Regions from separate parts of the Homo sapiens genome. Here all the other regions are linked to region 1. The links are contacts of gene promoters, found by promoter capture Hi-C in blood cells and fetal thymus (Javierre and others, 2016). All regions are on one chromosome and are shown on one strand. The core of a region is centred on a gene start or on the middle of the fragment in contact, and the rest is flanking DNA. Distances in the headings are between cores, read along the strand shown.

Evidence for each region. Contacts are between HindIII fragments. The CHiCAGO score rates a contact against its expected background, and 5 or more counts as called.
Region 2: a contact is called between a fragment that was not itself captured here and the fragment with the promoter of KCTD3 in region 1, in 2 of 17 cell types (M0 macrophages and total CD4 T cells). The highest score is 5.7, in M0 macrophages.
Region 3: a fragment that was not itself captured here is called in contact with the fragment with the promoter of KCTD3 in region 1 in 5 of 17 cell types (M0 macrophages, M2 macrophages, erythroblasts and 2 more); the score reaches 9.2 in M0 macrophages.
Region 4: a contact is called between a fragment that was not itself captured here and the fragment with the promoter of KCTD3 in region 1, in 2 of 17 cell types (M0 macrophages and M2 macrophages). The highest score is 7.2, in M0 macrophages.
Region 5: a fragment that was not itself captured here is called in contact with the fragment with the promoter of KCTD3 in region 1 in 1 of 17 cell types (M2 macrophages); the score reaches 6.0 in M2 macrophages.

Annotation. Positions count from the first base shown.
Region 1 is chr1:215,566,033-215,568,562 of GRCh38, forward strand. KCTD3 (potassium channel tetramerization domain containing 3) reads left to right here and starts at 1,272. Exons shown (of 18, transcript NM_016121.5): 1 at 1,272-1,736. The coding sequence starts at 1,654. It overlaps LOC124904599 (a long non-coding RNA gene), which reads right to left and starts at 1,325. Exons shown (of 2, transcript XR_922599.2): 1 at 1,248-1,325; 2 at 395-1,102. RefSeq lists a silencer at 1,404-1,673 and an enhancer at 1,486-2,346. The HindIII fragment of the contact is 6,743 bases long and covers 296-2,530 here.
Region 2 is chr1:214,588,348-214,590,877 of GRCh38, forward strand. No RefSeq gene overlaps it. Among named protein-coding and RNA genes, the nearest start is that of CENPF, 14 kb to the right of the region's middle. The HindIII fragment of the contact is 8,063 bases long and covers 1-2,530 here.
Region 3 is chr1:214,614,276-214,616,805 of GRCh38, forward strand. It overlaps CENPF (centromere protein F), which reads left to right. Exons shown (of 20, transcript NM_016343.4): 3 at 557-753. Among named protein-coding and RNA genes, the nearest start is that of CENPF, 12 kb to the left of the region's middle. RefSeq lists an enhancer at 544-1,743. The HindIII fragment of the contact is 6,674 bases long and covers 1-2,530 here.
Region 4 is chr1:214,643,160-214,645,689 of GRCh38, forward strand. CENPF (centromere protein F) reads left to right here. Exons shown (of 20, transcript NM_016343.4): 12 at 1-165; 13 at 1,398-2,530. Among named protein-coding and RNA genes, the nearest start is that of CENPF, 41 kb to the left of the region's middle. The HindIII fragment of the contact is 6,470 bases long and covers 1-2,530 here.
Region 5 is chr1:214,665,512-214,668,041 of GRCh38, forward strand. No RefSeq gene overlaps it. Among named protein-coding and RNA genes, the nearest start is that of CENPF, 64 kb to the left of the region's middle. The HindIII fragment of the contact is 5,458 bases long and covers 1-2,530 here.

The DNA of each region.
Region 1 (2,530 bases), core at 22-2,521:
TCCTAGTTGCTGCTGCTTTAATCTGAACTGTTACTCATCTTCCCTGTCTAAAGTGAAGATAATGAGGTACAATGCAGTGGTAAGGATGGTGAACAGTGGCCTTGAATTCAAGCTGCTTGCCTTGAAATTCCTGCCATCCCACTTGCTACCTATGTAATTTTGAGCAAGTTTTTTTGATCATTTTCATTCCCAAATTTCCTTTTTTAAAAATAATTATAACATTAGTTGTGACGAAGAAAGATGACAAAATATCTAAACCACCGGGTATATGATAAACACAAATTAGCTATTATTAAGCTTATCATCAACTGGGAGAAATAATACTTATCTTACATCCATATGTACTATTAACATCTTTCAAGTCGAATCTAGATAGAGCATATCACAACATTAGTATGCTTGCCAGAGGCTATTTTTTATTTTTTTGGTAAAAATTATGACAATGACAATAAAAACTTAACATCAGATACATTATCAGTTTGAATTATTATGATACAACTATGACAAAACAATTCATGTTAAGAATTTAGTACCACAAACTAATGACCTCTGAAACATAACGCACTATCTTTGTTAGTCTTTGTTAGCAGGGCATCAAGTATTATAGTATTCCGATTTAAAAAATATTTTAATAGCCACTAAGGTTTTGGGTTTGAATAGATACCGTTTAAAGCAAAAACAAATAAATAAACAAGCGCATAAAATTGTGTGTTTTCTGCGTGTGTCTAACATTAGTTGAGTGCTTACTATATTCCAGAAATAGGTTGCTGGGCATTACACAGTCTAGGGGTTTTTGTCCTTTGGTTTCCTTCCTGCTTAACAAACAAAAGCAAAAAACAAAACAAAAAAACTGCTTGGGAGATTGGGGATTAAATTGAAGAGGGTAAAGTAAGCAGTTTTCTGGGGTAAACGCTGTAAGGTTTTAAAATCTCCAAATGTTCCCTGCATTTGCACTGTCTACATTTAGGCATCAACTTTTACTACCTCTAGGATTAGTTTTTCCTTTCCCAATCCATGTTGACAAAGTGGGTCATAAAGATCCGTAGATCGTTTGCCCAGATCTGCCCTCAATCTGCGAATCAGCTTCCTCGTTTTAGAAAATCTGAAATGTAAAAGGGAAAGGGGCTGGGATCGCGTGGGGAGGAGGAACGAAATGGAATCCCGCGTGGGCAGGCGGCTGGCCAGGAGCACATTCCCCTAGCCTCCCTACGCGCCAGCCCCGCGGCGTTGGGAAGCTCCTCCCTGACCTTTCCTTCCTCCTCCTCCTCCTCATTCTAGGCGGCAGTGGCGGGCGAAGCGTGAGCGCTGCGGTATTTTGTCCCGAACGGTGACCCCTCCTCCCAGGCAGGCTGCGGCGGCGTCGGTGGCAGCGGAGCACGGAGAAGAGGCCCGGGCGGCCCGGCGGCCTGGAGGCCGCGAAAGGTGGAGGCCGGGCCGCCCTTGTGCACCGCAGGATTGACCCGGGAAGGGGCAGAAGCTAGCGAGCCCCGCCCGGCCGCCGGGAAGGTGGGGGAAGCCCCGTGCACCCCCCGCCCTCCGGCCGCCGCCGCCCCGCTGGCCCTGCAGCCGTCGCCGCTGCCTCGGGCTACAGCCCCGGGCTCGGCGGTCCCGGCTGGGGAAGGAGGGCGGCGAGCGCGTCCGGAGCCGCCGGAGATGGCGGGAGGGCACTGCGGCAGCTTCCCCGCGGCGGCGGCCGGCAGCGGCGAGATCGTCCAACTGAACGTAGGGGGGACCAGGTGAGTCGGCGGGTAGCGGGCTTGCAGCGGGGATGCCTTGGCGGCCTCCTCCTTTGGTGTCGACGGGGACCGAGAGTCGCAGGAACGAGGGCGAGCGTGGGAGGCCAAGCCTGGAGGGGAACGTGGGGGCCTCCAGGCGGCAAGAACGTCGGGCGGATTTTGGAGCTGGTGAAGCATCTGCTCTGGGAAGGGAGAGGCAGAAGGGACGCTTGGAATTACCGAGGACCAGGCCCATGTGGCAGAGTAGCTGCTGTCCTAGAATGCCAACCTTTGCCCCTCCCAACAGGCAAGGAGAACCATTACACAGCCTTCCTTACCTCATCTCAGATTAGAGTGTATTTGAGGACTTTATTTAGTAGAAACCTGGCTTTGTGGTTTGGATGTTGGAGATGAACTTGCTTTCCTTTCTCTTTGGTCAACGAGGTGTCGGTTTTCTTAGGGAAGAGTGCGGTGTTCTTTTCCGCGCCTAATTAGGGGATTTGTAATTTGAAAGATTTCTGTGATGGGAGTGCAGTAGGTTTGCAGTACCTAGTTATTTATTTTCAGAATTTCTTGGTGCATGGGCTTGAAGGATCTGTTCAACTTCTAGGACAGTGTGTCCAGAAACTGCAGTTTGAACATTTGCTTTTAGGAAGCTCTGGATATTGGCACGGTGTGACGCCCTTGGAGTAAACAGACTGAATGCTCTTCTCTGTCTGTTCTCTTTCTGGCCTTCCGCCCCCCCCCCCCCCCGCCCCTTCTGTGCCTGTTATTAAGTTTGTTGGGGGAAAAAATCGTAGTTTTTGTGGATTTCC
Region 2 (2,530 bases), core at 20-2,519, 980 kb before region 1:
CCACTAGCCCCGATAGCATAGCTGCTCTGATGATGAGACCGTTGTGCAAACGCTTTGGTAATGAAGGACACTCACTGGACAATCCACCAGAAAAATTGTCCTGTCCACCTGGTTGTTTCCTGTCTTACCTATGGTGGATGCTCTCTAGTGGGTATTGACAAAAGATGCAAGACCCCCACAATCTTTTTCCGTTCCTAAAAGGTCTATCTACAATCCTCTTCTTTAAATCTCTATGTCTACAATAATTTAATGTTGTTCCTATCAGCCAAATTATTTGCCCAGCAATATATTCTAACCTTGGACCACCTTTTCCCCATATGAAGTAGATGATCTGCTGTTCTGCTCACAGCTCTGCCCTTTGAAGTCCCCTGTTGTGGTGTTGTAGGGAGCAGCCACCTATTTTCAAGACATACCAACATATGAAGCCAACCTATCTGTGAACCACAATCAGGTGTTTTTTGGGTGGGCTACTTTTGGGGAACTCACCACAAGGCCATAGATGGGTATTGAGAGAGAAAGCCTTTGTGAAACAGAGTAGGTGACTTATGGCTTGCTATTTATGTTAAGTTATTTATGCGTTTTCAACCTGCTTGGGCCTCATCCTAGGATGGTTTGCTGCCACATCCGCTAGAACCCATGACTTGGTAGATCTGGCAATATTCAGGTAGTGATGGACTGTTCTGGTTATACACCTGATGTTACAAGGTCAGGTGCTCAGTGTCTGCTGGCCCAGTAGCACAACAGGAGCTGCTTTTCAAATGATAAGTCATTCTCTAGTGGAGAAAACATGACCTTGTTCCAGAATACTAGGGAGCCTGTGCAATGAATCTCTCATTGAGACATGCCAGACGGTCGGCCTTAATTTGCCATGGGTATCTCTAGCATTGTAGATCTGCCAGATGATATGGCCAAGTGCTGGATGCTTGCTTCATTTTGCACTGTAGTTGCTTTCAGCTTTCTGCTGGGCCAATACGTGAGTTTTTCTTGTTATAGAAATCAAGCAAAACTCAAGTGTGTTAGCCATCTATCTCTTACCTAGAAACATAATAGTCTATTAGTCATAACCACAGATCCCTGGACTTTATTTCTATTCCAGCTGTGCTGTCCATTGCAGCAACTACTTTCACCTTGCCATTGACAAGGTTATTAAGCACTGGCCCTGGCCTAGGCCATTCTAGATTTCTATTCATGCCATTCTATAGCAGCATCTTCTACTGTCAACCCTGGCCTATAGAGGTCAGCCACCACTGGACAGCTTAAAGATGTTGGTGTCCCCCTTTCTAGACATTCTTTGTTGTCTTAGTGGAGGCAATATCCTTTGGTCCCTTCTAGAAATAATAATCTGGTGGTGATCTTAGGTAATAAATCCAGTCTAACTTTCCCACCTCATGAAGATTGCTTTTTTTTTTTTTTTGATGGAATTTTGCTCTTGTCGCACACGCTAGAGTGCAGTGGTGGGATTTTGGCTCATAGCAAACTCAGCCTCCCAGGTTCAAGCGATTCTTCTGCCTCAGCCTCCTAAGTAGCTGGGATTACAGGCATGTGCCATCATGCTTGGCTAATTTTGTATTTTTAGTAGAGATGGAGTTTCACCATGTTGGTCATGCTGGTCTCAAACTCCTGACCTCAGGTGATCTGCCTGCCTTGGCTTCCAAAAGTGCTGAGATTACAGGCATAAGCCACCATGCCCAGCCCCTAAAGACTGCTATTCCTACCCTTAGTACTGGTAACTATGGTTTTAGCATATCAACCCTACTTGCTAAAGGTCATCATCACGTTCAGACTTCAAGAAGCCATCCAGAATGGCACATTCAGAATTTAACATTCTTGCCAGAACGTTAAATCCCAAATCACGAGAGTGCTCCCATGTCAGTAAGCCCTAGCCTGTCCAACCTTATATTCTGTACTCCCTCTCCTCCCAGCCTCCTCAAGATCAACTTTCAAGCATGTCCTGATTCCTGCTTGTACTTATTACCCAGGTCCTGCAACTCTTTTGGTGAGGAAACCATTCCCTCCCAGAGTAGGAAGAGGTGTGGAGACAATTGGGGGAGGTGGAAGTGGGCGCAGGAGAGAAGTGACTAGGAAAGTGATCATGCAAGGATAAGCCTTAGGTGGACCCACTGACGTATTCTCACCTCAGATCTCACAATTCTACCCCATCCATATCAAGGCCCTAACATTAGCAAGGAAAACTCTGCCATGAGACCACCCAGAAGGCTGTTGAGTAATAAAGGCAAGAATTGACAGTAGTCAGGACAAGGTACTGGGCAGTGAGAATGGAGAACATGGGAGAGATGGGGAATATTTGTGTATTTGTGGGAGATATAATTGATAGGATATACGAAAGGAGTAGGGGGTTGATTCTAAAGTTTCAAACTTAGTTAGCTGTGTGAACGAGGATATCATTTACGGAGATGGGGAAGTAGTAAAAAGAGCAGGTGTGGAGGAATTCCTTTTTTTTGAAGACAGTCTTACTCTGTCGCCCAGGCTGGAGTGCAGTGGTGTGATCCCAGCTTACTGCAGCCTTGAC
Region 3 (2,530 bases), core at 20-2,519, 950 kb before region 1:
GGTGTCTGCTCCTAATCTGGGGACAGTATTAGAGCATTTTGCAGTTAAATGGTTGTGGCTTTCTTAGACTGGGCTTTTTACCTTGGTATTCCTCAACCTTTTCAGGTCTAGAAAATGAAAACTAAACAGTACTTTTTAAAAATTACCTCTCTATTAGCCAACTAAATAGTGATACAGTCATTGCTTCTAAAAGGATTTTGCTTGTGGGAGAATTTTCTGGTTTCTAACAATAACTGGTTTTAGCAGCCAAACTTGAAAATGAATTGTTAAGGGAGATTTATAGGATTTATTTCCTATTTTTTAATTTTTGAAAGGATAGTAAAGACTCCCTTTCTAGGATGGGTGTGTCTGGCCAAAGATGATATACTACATGGCTTCAAAGAAGTTTCCTATCTATTGGCTTCAAAGTGTGATCATCTAAAATTTCTGTGTTCATATGGCTTATTGCAGCTGTATCTCAGGAATTTAGTAGTCAATGTTAGACTCAGGTTTACCAATAATACTTGGTAAATTCACAAAATAAGGGAGTTATTGTCTTCTGAACAATTCTCATTAGGTTGAAAATGAAAAAACCGAGGGTACAAACCTGAAAAGGGAGAATCAAAGATTGATGGAAATATGTGAAAGTCTGGAGAAAACTAAGCAGAAGATTTCTCATGAACTTCAAGTCAAGGAGTCACAAGTGAATTTCCAGGAAGGACAACTGAATTCAGGCAAAAAACAAATAGAAAAACTGGAACAGGAACTTAAAAGGTAATATTTTGGGATGGTATTTATAGGGATGATATTTGTATGTATTAATCAGATGCGTTTGTCTTTTCCTTTAACAATATAATTATTATACTTTGCAATTTTTTTTCCTGGTAGAATAAGTAATGATTCGGTCTCTGTACCGTAACTTGAAAGAGTGGAAGATTAAAAACAAACAAACAGTGATTTGGTTTTATCATTGCATAGCTCAGTACGATATAAATTTATCAAATGTTTGCTGCATTACTCATGTATTCATTCAGTATATGTTTATTAAGCTGTACCATGATTCAGACACTATTGGTCACTGAGTAATACAATAATAAATAGTACTATCATACTATCAAATTGATAGTATGATAATACTAGTTACATAGCATTATTTGATAGTATGATAGTACTTGTTAAAATAAAACTATCGACAGCTGTTACCGAAAAGATGGAAATTAGTTGAAGCATACTGATGGCTCGTGTTTTCTCTGGGTGGAAAAGCTGCTGTAGAGAATGAGAGGGAGAACTAGGGAATTATAAAAGGACGGAATAGCATGGAGGGCCCAGTTGAGATTGGAGACAGAATATAAGCAGGCCCAATCTGCAAGGTTGTGTGATAATTTAAAAAATGTTTCCTTTTGGCTGGGCTAGGTGGCTCATGCCTGTAATCCCAGCACTTTAGGAGGCCGAGGCAAGTGGATTACCTGAGGTCAGGAGTTTGAGACCAGCATGGCCAACATGGTGAAACCCCCTCTCTACTAAAAATACAAAAATTAGCGAGGTGTAGTGGCGGGCACCTCTAATCTCAGCTACTCAGGAGGCTGAGGCAGGAGAATCGCTTGAACCTGGGAGGTGGAAGTTGCAGTGAGCCGAGTTCGTGCCATATCCTTATAGCACATTTGGTTTTAAAATATTCTTCTTATCTAGTAGACTACAAAAACTACTGAATATGGTTTTAAAATTTACACTGCTAACTTCCAAATGCATTGCAGAAACTTATTTTTTCCATCAGTTGTCACTGATTAGGTTTCTGGAAGGTCTCCAACAAGTGAGGTTGAACCGTTTGGAATGTTTGTTAAAACTGTGGAGATTGGCAATCTCATATAGTTCAACCTAGTAGAAGATGCTTTTAGCTTTGTAGTGCTTTTTTGATGATGGTGTTTGTGTTTTTCTTCTTAGGGGGAAGAAGAAAAAATGGTTTATGAAAATAATAGCAGGGTATACTTTTGTTTAAGTAATAAATAACTTTGTTTAAAATGAAAGGATAGGGAAAAGAGAATAAGATACGAATTTAAAGTGGAAAAGAAACACTGGTTTTGCAAGATTCTTCAAAATTCACCTCGAATCAGCAGATTTGTGACATCTTTGCTAATCTGTAGACCTGCAACGTCCAATATGGTAGTCACTGGCTACAAGTGGCAATTATGATGTACTTCAAATGTGGCTGGTGCAAATTGAGATGAGCTGTAGTGTATGATGGATGCCAAATTCTGAAAATTTAGTATGAAAAAATGTAAAATATTTTATTAGTAACTTTCCTATTAATTACAAGTTGAAATGAGAGTATCTTGAAAATAGCAAGTTAAATTAAATATTAATTTTACTTATTTCTCGGTGCTTTTTAAATACTAGTGGAACATTTCCATTGGACCTTGCTGTTTCCTACTGTAAGCTCAGATGTGGTGGTTTGATTTGCTGAGAAGTCATTTTTAGCTCATACATTGCCTCTTCTCAGATTAAATTTGGAGCTAAATGGAGCTAAGGGCTTTCTTTCTTTCTTTGTTTCTTT
Region 4 (2,530 bases), core at 18-2,517, 920 kb before region 1:
CAGTGGCAACAGAAGCTGACAAGCGTGACTCTGGAGATGGAGTCCAAGTTGGCGGCAGAAAAGAAACAGACGGAACAACTGTCACTTGAGCTGGAAGTAGCACGACTCCAGCTACAAGGTCTGGACTTAAGTTCTCGGTCTTTGCTTGGCATCGACACAGAAGATGTAAGTACCTGGGATTTAAATGCCATTTCTCGGTTTACATGACTAGTGGACACTCAGTAAATGTTTGTCTAATTGAAATGTACATTAAACCTAAGTTAAAATATTTTTAGGGTTCAAGGAAATAAAATACACCAAAATATTTTCAAAACAAACCAGAACTTGAGGAAAATGAGTAAACGTTATTTGAGGAATAAATTTCTATAGGGATTAGATTTACATAGCATTATATAGAATATTACTAAAGATGTTTTTAAAGTCTGGAGAAAATTATATTATGGAGTCAGAAAGTCTTTAGAATGTGTGTTTCCACCCTTTGTGCATTAATAAAGTATACTGAAATAATTAAGAACTTACAAATGGTAATATGTAAATTTTTAATCTCTCCCACTTTTCAGACTATTTTTGATGTTATGGCATTATCGTCATGAAACTAAATACAGCAGATTCTTTATGTATTACTAAACAGTTTTCTCTCTAACAATTTACTGTGGTACAAAAATATGATTTGGTATAAGTCATTTAAAAGGGCTTTTAAAAAATTGAATACATATTTGTTTAATTGCTTGTAACTTTGTCCTTTCTAGCCTGCTAGCTTAATTAATAATGCTATATAGTGTATGCATGTCACTTGATTTCCTCTGTCTATCTCTGTGAGGTAGAGAAGGCAGGTCATGGTGAGGTGATGGCAGGTGTAGGTGCAACAGCAGATCCCCAGTTTACAGATGAGAGGAAAGTGAGGCTCAAATATGTAATTTATCCAATAATGTACAGTAAGTGCTGGATTGGGGATTAAGTCCTTGGACTGGGAATCTGGTTATGAAACTTTACTGCCTTATTAAAGAGTATCATAAATGCTGAAGGTGGAAGCTGAGCATTTTGTTAGCCTCTTATTTAATAATTACAAAGAGATTTCATATTTAGGCTACCTGAATATTCTTAGCAAGGGAAAAATATGAAATTTAAATACATTACAAATTGTAATTGAGCCGAAGGGTTTGTCTTCAAGATAAATGCCTAACCCCAGTGTCTTGCCCATAGGGGCCACTTACTGAACGTATAAGTATGTTGAACATTTGAATGAAGAGAGAAAGATGTAGTGGGAAATTCACCACTTTAAGAGATGTGTTTAGCAGAGGCCACGCATCAGTTTCTAAAAAGTAATAACTAAATCTATTCTATTTTGATTCTTTTTGAAAAATAAAATGCATGCTTGTTATGTATTATAATTACAGGCTATTCAAGGCCGAAATGAGAGCTGTGACATATCAAAAGAACATACTTCAGAAACTACAGAAAGAACACCAAAGCATGATGTTCATCAGATTTGTGATAAAGATGCTCAGCAGGACCTCAATCTAGACATTGAGAAAATAACTGAGACTGGTGCAGTGAAACCCACAGGAGAGTGCTCTGGGGAACAGTCCCCAGATACCAATTATGAGCCTCCAGGGGAAGATAAAACCCAGGGCTCTTCAGAATGCATTTCTGAATTGTCATTTTCTGGTCCTAATGCTTTGGTACCTATGGATTTCCTGGGGAATCAGGAAGATATCCATAATCTTCAACTGCGGGTAAAAGAGACATCAAATGAGAATTTGAGATTACTTCATGTGATAGAGGACCGTGACAGAAAAGTTGAAAGTTTGCTAAATGAAATGAAAGAATTAGACTCAAAACTCCATTTACAGGAGGTACAACTAATGACCAAAATTGAAGCATGCATAGAATTGGAAAAAATAGTTGGGGAACTTAAGAAAGAAAACTCAGATTTAAGTGAAAAATTGGAATATTTTTCTTGTGATCACCAGGAGTTACTCCAGAGAGTAGAAACTTCTGAAGGCCTCAATTCTGATTTAGAAATGCATGCAGATAAATCATCACGTGAAGATATTGGAGATAATGTGGCCAAGGTGAATGACAGCTGGAAGGAGAGATTTCTTGATGTGGAAAATGAGCTGAGTAGGATCAGATCGGAGAAAGCTAGCATTGAGCATGAAGCCCTCTACCTGGAGGCTGACTTAGAGGTAGTTCAAACAGAGAAGCTATGTTTAGAAAAAGACAATGAAAATAAGCAGAAGGTTATTGTCTGCCTTGAAGAAGAACTCTCAGTGGTCACAAGTGAGAGAAACCAGCTTCGTGGAGAATTAGATACTATGTCAAAAAAAACCACGGCACTGGATCAGTTGTCTGAAAAAATGAAGGAGAAAACACAAGAGCTTGAGTCTCATCAAAGTGAGTGTCTCCATTGCATTCAGGTGGCAGAGGCAGAGGTGAAGGAAAAGACGGAACTCCTTCAGACTTTGTCCTCTGATGTGAGTGAGCTGTTAAAAGACAAAACTCATCTCCAGGAAAAGCTGCAGAGTTT
Region 5 (2,530 bases), core at 12-2,511, 900 kb before region 1:
TTCTCCTGCCTCAGCCTCCCAGGTGGCTGGGACTACAGGCATGTGCCACCATGCCTGGCAGTTTTTTTTGTATTTTTAGTAGAGATGGGGTTTCACCATGCTGGCCAGGCTGGTCTCGATCATCTTTATAATTGTAGAGAGTTGTTCAAAATCTTGTAAGTGGACAGCCAGGACATTATTCTTTTCCTCAAGCTGACAGTACTTGTTCTGCTATGAGCTGAGCTGCATACGGGATGAAAGTAAACATGCTACCATTCCAACTTTCAAGTACCTTATAAGCCAGTTGAGTCATGAGTAAGATCCCCCGCTGACAAATCATATGGGAAAATGAATCAAGTTCAGAGATCTGGGAATCAGATTCTCATCTGTACAATGAGGAGCTTGGTTGAGATGATTCTTTTACCGTAAATATTGGATAAGAGCTGAAATGGACCTTTGTGTTATTGGGAGTTGCTGGCAGTCTAAGGGGACTGCATCTTCAGTAAGAAAGAAATAAGAACCAAAATTTAAATGTAGCCTGATTTCTATTTCTTGAGACACTCCTCCCCTCACCCTCTCACTTGCCTTCTTTGAGATTTATTTGTGATTTTTCTCATTTGATTCCAGTTTATTTATTTTGTTGGAACTACTAAATTTTCACAGATTTGTTTGCACCTGGGAAGAAGTCAGGGCACTTCTTCCTGGGGGCCCGTAACTCAAGGAGGGGAGACCTCTTCCACTTTCCAACTGGTTTGAGTCTGCAGAAGTTTCTAACTTCTCTTAGCATGGCTCAACACCAATTGTTATTTTAGAATTTCCAAGTTCTTCCAAAATCCTTCAGGCTATGGGCAGTATGTCGTGAAAGAAATTTAAATAGTAAATAAACTGATGAGTTCTTGTAAGCCATAGGTTTATTGCACCACAGTCGGAAGTTGCACTGATCATTAGCATGTTTTTCATATTTCTCTTCTGTAGTTAAGGAGGGGGATACAATTATTTTTGAAGAGAACAGTAAGTACCTAAAATTAACTACCACTTGGTAGTTGAGAGTTATGTGCTCTCCCGCTTCGGTTCATGTGAGCTGACTTCTCTTTGAAGGGAAAGGGGTTGTATGCTAACTCACTGACCGAGGAGAGAATAGAGCCTTGAGTGCTTCAGAAGAGCCTGGCTATTCTCATTTGAAAAGTCTGAGGACCTGAAGCTGCCATCCTACCTGCAAGCCCAGCTATGTATCTAATGCTACTACTCACTTTAGCTTTGGCTCAACTACTTAAAATACTGGATGGAAAGTCTTACATTTTACAAGGTATTTTCATGTGTGCTGAAACTTCCACCTTTGTGAGGTAAGAGACAGAGGTCAAACTTCTCACTCATAGGCCTGGGGAGATCTTGCTTAATGATAATTGTGTGTCTCCCCACAACCTTGCAAAATGAAGATTATCCTTATCAAACAGAAGATAAAATAGGCTCAGCGTATTTGGCCCAGGAAGTAGCAGAGTTGAGTTTCGACCTCAGCTTTGCAAATACAAAACCCATTCTCTTGTTTGTCCTGTAGCTTCTCTGGAAGCAGTCTTTTCCAGAATAATTCTGATAGTATAGATTTTCAGATGATATTAAGTAGCTTTTCCACTTTCTATGTGCAATGGCAATGAAGATATCTAGGCTGTCTGCATCTGATTTGGGTTACCTTATATTTAATTTCAAAAATGTAAAATGGGACTAGCTATACATTTTAACTCCTAAAAGTTGTCTACCAACTAAAAGTTGTCTACTAACTGAATGCATACGCATTATTTATGTAGAGGTAAATCCTTTCAAAGAGTCTTTTTTGCAATTCAACAAAGAAACCTTATTAAAAAGTGGGCATGAACAGACACTTCTCAAAAGAAGACATACAAGTGACCAACAAACATGAAAAATTGCTCGACATCACTAATCATCAGAGAAATACAAATCAAAACCACAATAAGACACCATCTCACACCAGTCAGAATGGGTATTATGAAAACATCAGAAATTAACATGCTGGCAAGGTTGTGGTGAAAAGGGAATGCCTATACAGTGATGGTGGGAATACAAATTAATTCAGCCACTCAGGAAAGCAATTTGGAGATTTCTCAAAGAACTTATACAATAGAACTACCATTCTACCCAGCAATCCCATTACTGGGTATATACCCAAAGGCAAATAAATCATTCTGCCAAAAAGACACATGCACTCCTATGTTCATCACAGCACTATTCACAATAGGAAAGATACGGAATCAACCTAGGTGCCCATCAATAGTGGACTGGATAAAGAAAATGTGCTACATATACGCCATGGAACACTATGATGCCATAAATAAAAATTCAATCATGTACTTTGCAGCAACATGGATACAACTGGAGGCCATTATCCTAAGCAAATTAACTCAGGAAACCAAATACCACAGGTTCTCACTTATAAGTTGGAGCTAAATATTGGGTACATGTGGACATAAAGATGGGAACAATAGACACTGAGGACTACTAGATGGGGGAAGGAGGAAGGGGGGACCAAGAGTTGAAA